Linked DNA regions of Homo sapiens: region 2 is linked to region 1. Evidence: promoter capture Hi-C in 16 types of primary human blood cells and fetal thymus (Javierre and others, 2016). All regions are on one chromosome and are shown on one strand. The core of a region is centred on a gene start or on the middle of the fragment in contact, and the rest is flanking DNA. Distances in the headings are between cores, read along the strand shown.

Evidence for each region. Contacts are between HindIII fragments. The CHiCAGO score rates a contact against its expected background, and 5 or more counts as called.
Region 2: a contact is called between a fragment that was not itself captured here and the fragment with the promoter of ISM1 in region 1, in 1 of 17 cell types (naive CD4 T cells). The highest score is 5.1, in naive CD4 T cells.

What each region holds. Positions count from the first base shown.
Region 1 is chr20:13,219,009-13,224,276 of GRCh38, reverse strand. It overlaps ISM1 (isthmin 1), which reads right to left and starts at 3,003. Exons shown (of 6, transcript NM_080826.2): 1 at 2,363-3,003. The coding sequence starts at 2,500. It also overlaps a transcript of TASP1 not described here. RefSeq lists silencers at 2,572-2,641, 3,101-3,220. The HindIII fragment of the contact is 8,964 bases long and covers 674-5,268 here.
Region 2 is chr20:13,169,234-13,174,501 of GRCh38, reverse strand. It overlaps a transcript of TASP1 not described here. Among named protein-coding and RNA genes, the nearest start is that of ISM1, 49 kb to the left of the region's middle. The HindIII fragment of the contact is 2,071 bases long and covers 1,170-3,240 here.

The DNA of each region.
Region 1 (5,268 bases), core at 1,754-4,253:
GAAGAGTATAAAACTTTTATAATAACAAATTACAAAACAGCAAAATTATGAACTAAACTGCTAAACTCATCATTCTGCTTGGAAAAGTGTGTGCATTGAGTGGACAGTCTCACCGAACACTATTACAAGATAAGCTGAAGCTGGTGGATTAGCAGCTACTTGGGACTCAAGATATTTCTAGGAGCATAACTCTTTCTAAATCCCCCATTTGTTGTGTCCTCTTGGGGCAGTTCTTCAGCCAAAGCCCCTTTTGAGAATTCAGTCCACTTCCCTTTTAGAACTGCCACTTCCACCAGCTGCTTCTCTCATTACCTTACTGTTCAAGCGGAAAAGGCCAACCCCGGGTTATTCTAATGATAGCAAACACCTCATAAAGTAATCTGCCAAATTTACTTTTCCACAGAACATCATTTTTATGGCTTTTCATGAGTCCATGAGGAAAGAAAGCATCATGTATAAAATATAACTTCCAGAAATCTTGAAGATATTAAGAATTATCTCCGCAGTGTTAGATTGGTGGGTGCCCCAGTCTATAGGATGGTGGCATCTTCAACTTCCGCATAGAAATTCCCTCAGTCTGTCACTGTACTTATCTACCCACGGGAGAAGGTGAGAGAACCCACAAAGTTAGGACATTTTTAGAAATGTCTCAAAGTTAAAACAACTTTAAGCTTTGGGGTGTGTACTTTTCTACTGTTTTGTAATTGCGTGCAATAATCACCTTGCTTTAGTCTATCCTGGTAGAGACAAAATTTGGTGTAATCAAGAGTTTGGAATGTCTGAACTTTGACAAGTTTTTTAACCTCTCTGTACCTCAGTTTTTGCATCTGTAAATGAGGCTATATTAACAGTACCATGTCTTGTAAGATTATGGTTAAATTAAGTGAGTTAAATTCTGTAAAGTACTTAAAACGGTGGCACGTAGTAAACACAATGGAAGTGTTTTATTAGTTTTCTCTTTACGGTAAAGTTTTTCGCAATAAATTGTATAAAGATGTAAAAAGTGAATTATCAAAGACAATGAATATAAAGGCCTTTGGGAACAATGAATAATGCTTATTTCATTTTATTTATTTATTTATTTATTTTATTTTATTTTATTTTATTTTATTTTTTTTTTGAGACGGAGTCTCGCTCTGTCGCCCAGGCTGGAGTGCAGTGGCGCGATCTCAGCTCACTACAACCTCCCGGGTTCAAGCAATTCTCCTGCCTCAGCCTCCCGAGTAACTGGGACTACAGGCGTGCGCCACCACGCCCAGCTAATTTTTGTATTTTTAGTAGAGACGGGGTTTCACCATGTCGGCCAGGATAGTCTCCAACACCTGGCCTGAGGTGATCCACCCGCCTCTGCCTGCTAAAGTGCTGGGATCACAGGCGTGAGCCACCGCGCCTGGTTTGAGCAGATTTTAGGAGCCAGAGAATCCCCTCTGCCTCCTGGGAAAATCCCTGCTTGCTTTTGCCTATGCTCCAAGTTTACAGTTGTCCCACCCCTAGACTCAAGGAAAGGCGCTAACATAGCGGCAGGAAATGCCTAGCTGGGCAATTCTATTCCTAAGTCAGAACTCACATTATGTCTGACCGTCCACTACGCCCTCTCCTTGCCCTGAAGTTGAAATGGATAAACAGAATCCCATTGCTAAAGCGACCTTCAACGGGGAAGATCCTTGGGAGAAAGACTTTGCTACAAGTTTAAAAGCCCCAGGTAACCCTGGCCCAAATCACTACCGGTGCCTTCACTCTGCACCTTCCCCATGACCAAGGGGGCACAAGGGGGGAGGGGGGAACCTCAGGCGAGGCTCCCGGAGGAAGAGGAACACTGGAAGCAAGGGAACCCTGAGGGTGAGGAGGGGATGCCTGGCTATTCTCCTTGGGAAATTATGTCCTGACCTTTGGCATTGCTTCCTAAAGGGGTAGACTCCCGGAGTTCTTTCTCCCAAAGACTTCAGGGATATCATCCTATAAAGTCTCCTTGCGTCCCTCCAGCCTCGAGTAACATTACTCAGCCTCCGAAGGGCAACGAAAGACTGGTAGCACCCCCAAGCAAGCACATTCTCCACACTTCCTCTGCTCATCCCAAACCTCGCTCCTTCCCACCTCCCCACCAACCCCGCACCTGACCCGTGACAGACAGAACTGAAGGAGCGCAGCCCGCAGACCTGGAAGCCGGGTGCAGCCTCCAGGCACGTGCCCCCGCTCCGCCTCTGCCTAAGTCAAGTGGCCCGGGCAAAACTACTGCCAAAACAGTTGCTCTTAGGTGGGGCAGGGGACCTGCCTCCCTGCATCCACCCGGCACTAGCTCAGCACCCCCGCCCCACAAACCGTCCCCGCAGCCGCGCACGGCCCTCTCCGGCGGCGCACTCACCTGCAGCTGGGCTTGGCTGGCGTTGCCCGCGGCCGCGTCGGGCCCGTCGGCGGCTCCCGAGCCGCGCAGCACGGTGATGTGCAGCGTGAGCAGCAGCAGCCCCAGCAGCAGCAGCAGCTCGGCCGCCAGGCGCACCATCCTTTTGAGACGCGCGGCTTTAGGACCCGGCGCGGCGGCCGGCGGCGGCGGCGGTGACGCCGGGGGAGGAGGAGTAGGAGCCCGGGAGCCCGGCAGCGCGGCTCCCGCCTCGGCTCCCGCCAGGGCTCCGCTTCCCGGGCCCGCGGGGCTGGCGCTGGGCGCGGCGGGGTGTGCGGGGCCGGGGGAGCAGGAGCTGCCGGCGCCGCCGCCGCCGCCGCCGCCGCACCACGGCGGAGCCACCGCGAGGCCGGGGGTGTCCAAGCCGGCTGCGGAGCAAGCCCCGGCGCTGCCTGGCGGCGGCGGCGGCGGAGACGGAGACTGGGTCCCGGGACAGCCCGGGACCCGGGCCGGGCCGGAGGCCACCCTGCTGGCAGGGGGCTGCGGGGTCGGCGGCGGGGCGGGCGCAGCCGAGCCCCCGAGCGCACATGGGCGCCCCAGATGTGGCCGCGGCGCCGCAGCTGGAGCGGGAGCGGCCGCCAGAGAAGCGCGGGGAGGAGGAGGAGGAGAAGGAGAAGGAGGAGGAGGAGGAGGAGGAGGAGGAGGAGGAGGAGGAGGAGTAGGAGGGCTTCAGCTGCGGCCGGGAGTTACCTCCACGCTTGGCGCCCCCGCCCTCGCCGCCCCGAGCCACTCACCCGGCAAGCCACCTCCACTACTCTCCGCGCTCCTCGGGGCCGCCTGCCGCGCCGCCCCGCACTCGGAGTCCCGGGGAGGGCCGGTTCCAGATGGGGGCCCCGGGCACACCGAGGTTGTCACGGTTTGGCGGTAGCCGGGGCGCCCTCGGCGGCAGCGTCAGCCTGCCGGGCTGTACCAAGTGCCCGCTGCCGAGGTCGCTGTGACGGGCGCGGGTAGAGCCCTTGTGCACACTGAGGCTCGGGGCTGTGGGTGGGTGGGGTGGTGCCTGGGCTGCTTTAGAAACCTTTATTGGCAAACTGGAGCTGGAGTTGCAGTGATGGAAAACGGAGGGGGCGCCGGACAAGCCATGCGTCTGCCTGCGACCCCTGCCTGAAGCAGTCGGGGGAGAGGAGGAGTGCCAAAGTGTCGTTCCGAAGGGTCTTGACACTTGCTGGGCCGCCCGCTAGCCGGGCACGGCTGTTCGCGGATCCGCGGCGCCCCGTAGAGCCTGGGAAGGGAGGGGAGTCCGACTCTCTAGGCGTTCGTCTGGTCACGGGCGCAGGTGTTGGCTGGAAGCTGCAGAGACGCAGTGCCCGCGGCTCAGGCGCTCAGGAACTCGGAGTGAATCTCAGCTCTAGTGGGCTTGCCTCTGTGGGGGGCTCATCCCGGGGGTGCCGCGCCCAGAGGGGATTTGGGGGCTGGCGTCGCGCAGCTGTCGATCCCGGGCCACCGCCTCATGACCGCGCTGCAGCCTCGGGCTCCCGCGTGCGGCTCATGCCTTGCAGTGGGCGGTTGGCGAATGGAAGGGCTCTGGGATCCGGCTGAGGGCGCGGAGTCCGAGCGTCAGATGCTAGAGCGAACTGTGTCGGTCCGTGGCACCGCGCACTTCCCTCCTTGACCTTGCTCGGGCTCCCGCCTTACCGAAGTGACTCGGAGTAGCGGACGCTCAGTCCGGCCGGGACTTTTATACTGCGCTTCCCCTCCTCCTACCCGTTCCCTCCCTTCCTCCTCCCCAGCGCCGGCCCAGCCCTTCCCTCCCAGCGAGCCAAGACCTAGTCCACGCGTTCGCACACAGCCGCGTCGCACATTTCCAAGCCTTTCCCGCGTCCCGGACCCCAGTGCCTCCGGGATGGAGCCTCCGAATTCTCCCTTGGTGAATGAAATTAAATAAATAATCAACTCTTTCTTGACGGCACGCCTCCCTTTCCCCCTCCCCAATTTCCTACCTTCCTTCTCCGCGTCCTAGAAAGATTTAAGATTCTTAATTCAACTGCTTTCGAGTTCTCGCAAGGCATCTCAACCAAGTATTAACCAAATTAAGGCAAACCCTTGCGCCTTTGCGAAGGTTCCTCCGGTCACCGCGGTACTTTGCAGAATTTAAATAGCGGTAGTTAAGGTAGGGTCTGCTGGTTGGGCTTATTTGTGCCCGGGAGAGGAAGGGCTTGCTGCCTCCTTAAAGATGCCTGAAGCATCTTTAAAATTCTAACTAACTCCAGCATCTTATTAATAAATTGGCAGCTGTTTATAGAGTCTGCTATATTTTTTCCTTTTCATTATTTTTTTTTGGGTGGGGAACGGTGCGAGGGAGGAGGGGAGATGTTTGGAGGGGTGCTTGCTTTGGATTTTTAGGCAGCCGGGCCTGTCAGACATCTTATTTCTATCTCTAGGCTCTAAAATGCCAATAATTGTCACTGGAGTGCGGGTCGGGGGGAGTGGGGGGAAACGCGAAACAATAACCGTCCGTATTTCAGATGGGAGATCAAAGAGGGGATCCCAGCAGCTTTTAAATCCTGGAAGGATCCTCCTGTGTGTTTTCTAATTAGGATCACTTAAAAGGGAAAGGGCTGGAGAATCAGCGCCGAAATAGAATGTATAAATTAAGATGGCAAACTAGAATCCCACAGCCAAAGAGTTTTAAGGATTGTTCTAACCTCCAGTTGTGCCAGATTATGATACGGGCTCGCAGGAACAAATGACTTTCCTATTGCCAGAGGCAGGCTGGTCTGAATTAGGATCCAGGGGCCGCTGTGTCCTGCCCTTTCATCACACACAGTCTCCACATGTAAACCTCAGCTGCTTCTCCTCTCATCTAAAAGTAACAGTTTTGGACCCAAGGCAAAAATGACCTTTAAAAAACTCTGGAAAGAAACCTTTGC
Region 2 (5,268 bases), core at 956-3,455, 49 kb after region 1:
GGTCTTGAACTCCTGGGCTCAAGCGATCTATCCACCTCAGCCTCCCAAAGTGCTGGAATTACAGGCATGCGCCACCACACCCTGCCTGGAATATCTTAAGAGTATAATTCAAGATCATTATAATGAGCCTAAGACAATTTTCAAATTATTTTTTAAGCTTTGGTTAACTAAATGTATGTTCAAGTTGCCTCTCTCTCATTTTGAACTTTTCTTCTTTAATGTATAACATCTATTTAATCATGAACTTCAGAAGTATAAATTTAAAAGACCTGAACATGCCCATGGGATGTGATGAACAATAATTTTCTAAAATCAGACCTGTAAATTCGTACTTCTACAAGGTGAGAACCTACCATATGTAAATTTCATTTTCACATCATTCACATATATACACATTGAAGGCTGGACGTGGAAATGAAGAACGGCACTGGGGATGGGGCAGGAATGAATTGTTGTGCACACTGTTATTTTTAGTGGCTCTCTCTTCTAGTCCTTAAACTGTCACAGAAGAATAGCTTTGAACAAGCTACAAAATTCTGAAAGGTCACAACCCAGGAAGGCAGAGACTCCAGGAACATGCATCAGGGAAGGTGCAGATGGATAAACAAGCCATAAAGTGCACCATATTTTTTCTTTTCCAGCATTTCACCAAAGAGTTGACTCCAGGCTATTACCCTGTGAAAGTGAAATTTTAAAAGAGGCAATTCCAAACAAACCTACACCAATCCCCAGTTGGCTCACTTTCACCATCACTAATGAAACCCAGGAGGGTCTTGAAGTGAGGTGTGACAATGTGAGAGGCAGAGCAAAGATCACAGAGGTGAGAAACCTATCACCTCTGTTTTCATATCCTGAGGAGCATATGGGCCAGACTTAGCATGCCCATGGTTCTTGTGGCCAGGACAGCAGATGGACAACCACTGCTGTAACGCCCCCTCCTCCAGCCTAGCCCATCCATTTCAAAGGTGCCTTTGCTGAGAGCATTCACATCTTACAGCCACCTTGTACACTGTGAACAGAAGTAAGCATATCTTTCCTGAGGAACTAGGTGAGTGCATCCATACTTGATAAGAATGAGACATGACGCAAGAAGTAACTGGTCTAACCTGCTGACCAACTGGCTGTGTGGTCATGACTCTGGGTTCTGTAGCTGGAGAATGGATGAAGCTTATAAGATTTCATCTGTCTGATGTGAGTAAATGAAGTTGGTGTTGGAGCAGCTTTGGGATAGGAGGGTTACATCTCTAGGAACTAAGATATTAGGGCATTCTCTGCAGCAATTCTGCTTTTTATAGATCTCTGGATGCTCCCCTGAGATCTTGGAAATAGGGCTTGCCAGCACTCTCAATGTGTCTAAAGAGTCAGAGTTAAGTCAATCATCATACAGGGTAAAGGGAGCCCTCTTCCATGATCACTTTTTCTTTTCCCCAGGCTGAAACCTGGAGCCATAACCACACATGCAATGGCAAAGTCCTAGGGGTTGGTGGAGCCACAGGCTGGAAATAGCCTGGGTCCCTGAAACACCATGTGGAGGAGATTGCTTGGCAACCAGGGACACCCAGTGGGACTTGAGCAAAAAATTACCCATCACCTTTTGATTTAATCTACCTTAATTATCATTCCAAAATTTCTTTTCATTATACTATTATATTAATTTCACTCTTTCCTGGATACTATGTCTTTCTTTTACTTGGAAGTGTTTATTGAAGTATTCATCAAGTAATTTTTTAAAGGAAGGGTACTGAAGTAAACTTTCTGAATCTTTCATTTAAAAAAATCCCCGTTTTACTCTCCCTTTATTAGACAGACTTTTCTGGACATAGGATTTTAGATTCAAAAGTATTTTCCCTATGAATTCTGAAGGCAGTGCTTTGTTGTCTTCTAGTATCTGGTATTGCTGATGAGGTATTTACAATAGAAATAGTAGCAGGGGATTCAAACAAATGTGCAAAAGACAAATACAAGCAGCCAGTATATATATATGAAAAGAAATCACTATAAATGGACATCATTTATGAAAGAGAACCCCTTTTTATCCTATAAGATTGACAAATGTTATAAAAATAATAATAGTATTGGTGCAGATTGGAGAAATGGATAACTTATACACTGTTAACAGATGTGAAAATTGGTATGAACTTTCCATGTTTATAATATTCAGTAGTAAAAGCAATTACTTTTACCTTTTTAGGTGAAAATTTTTTTTCTAGCTGAAAACAATTTTAAGTTCTTCCCTTTATCCTTGGGATAGTAAAAATTTTATGAAGGTGTATTTAGATAAAAATCTTTTTATATTCATCCGCTTAGCACTTGCTAGTCCATTTTCATCTTCCATTTTGTTTCAGCCTCAGGGATTATAATGCTTTCTCAAGTTTTTATTAGATGGATATTGTTCCTCCTGTATGTATCCTCTTTGTCGTTTTACATTTTTTCTCATGTTTTCTATTTTTTTCTGGCCTTTGCTTTATATTCTGAGATTCAAAGATTTTTTCTTCTTTGCTTTCTATTGATTTTCACCACTTTAATATTACATATTTTTAATTTTTATAAACTCTGGGTTCCTTTACATATCAGCCTATTCTTGTTTTGTGGATGTAATTTCTTTATACAATCAGGTTGACCTACAAAGATCATAATTAGAACTTTTAAAAAGTTAACTTTTCCAGGAATTGTCTGTTTCAGTCAGTAAGATATTTCTCATTTTTTTCTCCTTGGCTACCCACTTTGGTATTGCTGGTTTTCATCAAATAACTGGTAATCTCTGGCTTTCTATTTCTATTCACAATCGAGAGCCATGTTGACTGATGTCAATACCAGTCATACTTCCTCTCTAATTCGCTATTAGAAACAATAGATGCTCAAATAATCAGTGTAACTTTTGAAAATGTTAGTTTTCATCTTACTAGAAATGGACCCACTTTAATAAAATATTTTCATTTTTCTATATTATGTACCTGTTACATTGACTGTATATAGCAGTTATAGCCTCATCTATATAGGAAATCTTTAACTTTGATTGGTCCCACTTAGAATTGTCTCATTAATACATCGCTTAAAAATCTATATTTTGAAGTTTTATTTGATAATTTTTTTAGAGTTAAAAACTCTTCATGGATATTTTGTTGAAAATATTTTAGAGGGAACTGAATTTCATTTTAAAATATTAACACATTTTTATATATGAAAGAAACCTATTTTGTTACAGGTGCTTATAATTTGTGGCTATGATTAATTGAAGCTTTACATGTATAACGTTTTTTTAAAAGACTGGTGTAAATTATATAAAATTGAGATGGACACTATAAAAATAGTTGTATGACAACCACAATTATTTACAAAACAGACACATTAAGGGGAAATCATGTATTGTTGGCAGAGATTATTTTGCCCTTAAAAGGGCAAAAAAACTGATAGACTGATTGGCTGCATCAGCCTGTTGAAAAGTTTTTATTCAAATGATGCCAGGAGCATTTTCCATGACCCCACATTGCTACCCATTCACTTTTCACACACAGAGCCTTATTCATGCTGGGGTCATAGTTAAGTTGTAGGGTAGATTGATTTCATCACAGCGAAGCCATTACACATCCTTTGGTCTTCCTTATGCCTTTAGTCCACGCATGCTTCAGATCTGGGAAAAAACCCCACACATTTGGGCTGGAGAAACAAAGCAGCAGCCATTTCCTTGCCTTAGTTCTTGGCCCATAATGAAGTAAGAGCACGATGTGATGATTGGAGCCAGACCTATCCCTGGCCATGGGCACTGCAGCCGACCCAAACCTAATTAAGAAAGATCTTGAATAAACTTGGGTGAGGGCCAAAACCACTAGCCCCTTCAATCAATACTTTTGATATAAAAATTAGCAGCTGGGCTGAATAAAAGGGAGCGCTGTTATATGCCACAGCAAAACAAAGTCTCCTTTTGCTCCTATTCTGAACTTCTGTTGTTGGATATTTTATTGGTTTGTATCTGTGATAACTTCTCAGAGCAGTTGACTTGCAAATGTCAGAATTCAGCCTCCCATTTGGACCACAGGATGCAATGAAAATTAGAATAACCAGTCCCTACATTAAACCCAGATTGGCATGGGAATCAACCTTTTCCAAATGAAACTGGTTTCACTTGTTCCCTTATTCTTGATTGAATTACTCCTGCTAATATATAACGTTTAGCTAAAATAACTTTTTAAGAAAATTGATTTGATAAGGAAGAGGATAAACATTCTAAGAAAAAACAATCTACCATCAAAGTCTTGGAAGTCCTCTTTATGCACTGTTAATCCCCTCATAACTTGAATATACTTGCCTTCCAAGATGAAGCCATTATTAATCTCTACAAGAGTACTTGGAAGATAATGTTGCAGTTCTTAATATCGTGTCTGGCATGTGGTAAGTGTCTAAAAATGATTGCTTTATTGTCCTTCAAGACACCACGTATTGACTTTAGAAATAATTTCTAGTTTTAATCCAGGGAATTTACATGCAGGCTATACAATAGGGAAAGAAAAGGTTAACATTTGACTCCTTTTGATGCCTTTGTTATCCTGAAGACTTATCTTTTAATGAGGTTGAAAAGAAGAATAAATTAAGACACCCCTTCCTTTTAGAGATACTCAGTAAAATGTTTACTGATAATATGATTTCTGGGATGTGCTTCAAAGCAATCTGGTGAGAGAGGGAGTGAAATGGGTTGGGGAATAGAAGAAAAGACTGGCCATAAATTGGTAATGTTTGAAGCTGGGTAATAGGTGCATGTGGGCTCATTATACTATTCGATTTTACGTATGTTTAACATTTTCTGATATAAAACTTTAAAAAAAATGGATCAATTAGAAATCATTTAAAAAATAATAAATCACAGCTGAGTCCCTTCCCAGGCATTGTTGTCAGCTCAACAGACCTGCCCAAGGTAATGCCTGGCCCCACACCTCTACTGATAGCTTGCATCTGGCATCCTTGTCATTTTGACTTGACCCTAAAGGACCATCTCAGTTGCCCAGTTTCCATGGAATTGGCTGAGGCCTTTGCTATGATAACATCATAGTTCAAATTCTTCCTCTTTCCAATCCTGTTCCTTTACTCTTACGTTTGTATTGTACCATTGTAGGTGGTCTCAGTGGTGTGCTAGTAAATGTTTAACAGACAGCTCTCTAGAGCCCTGACTTGTAGTGTCTGCCAATTTCCATGGTGTAAATACTCCCATTGTGGCCAATTTCAAGCTACCAATCTGATGTCACTGAATGAGGAATTAGAAAGAAATGTGCACAA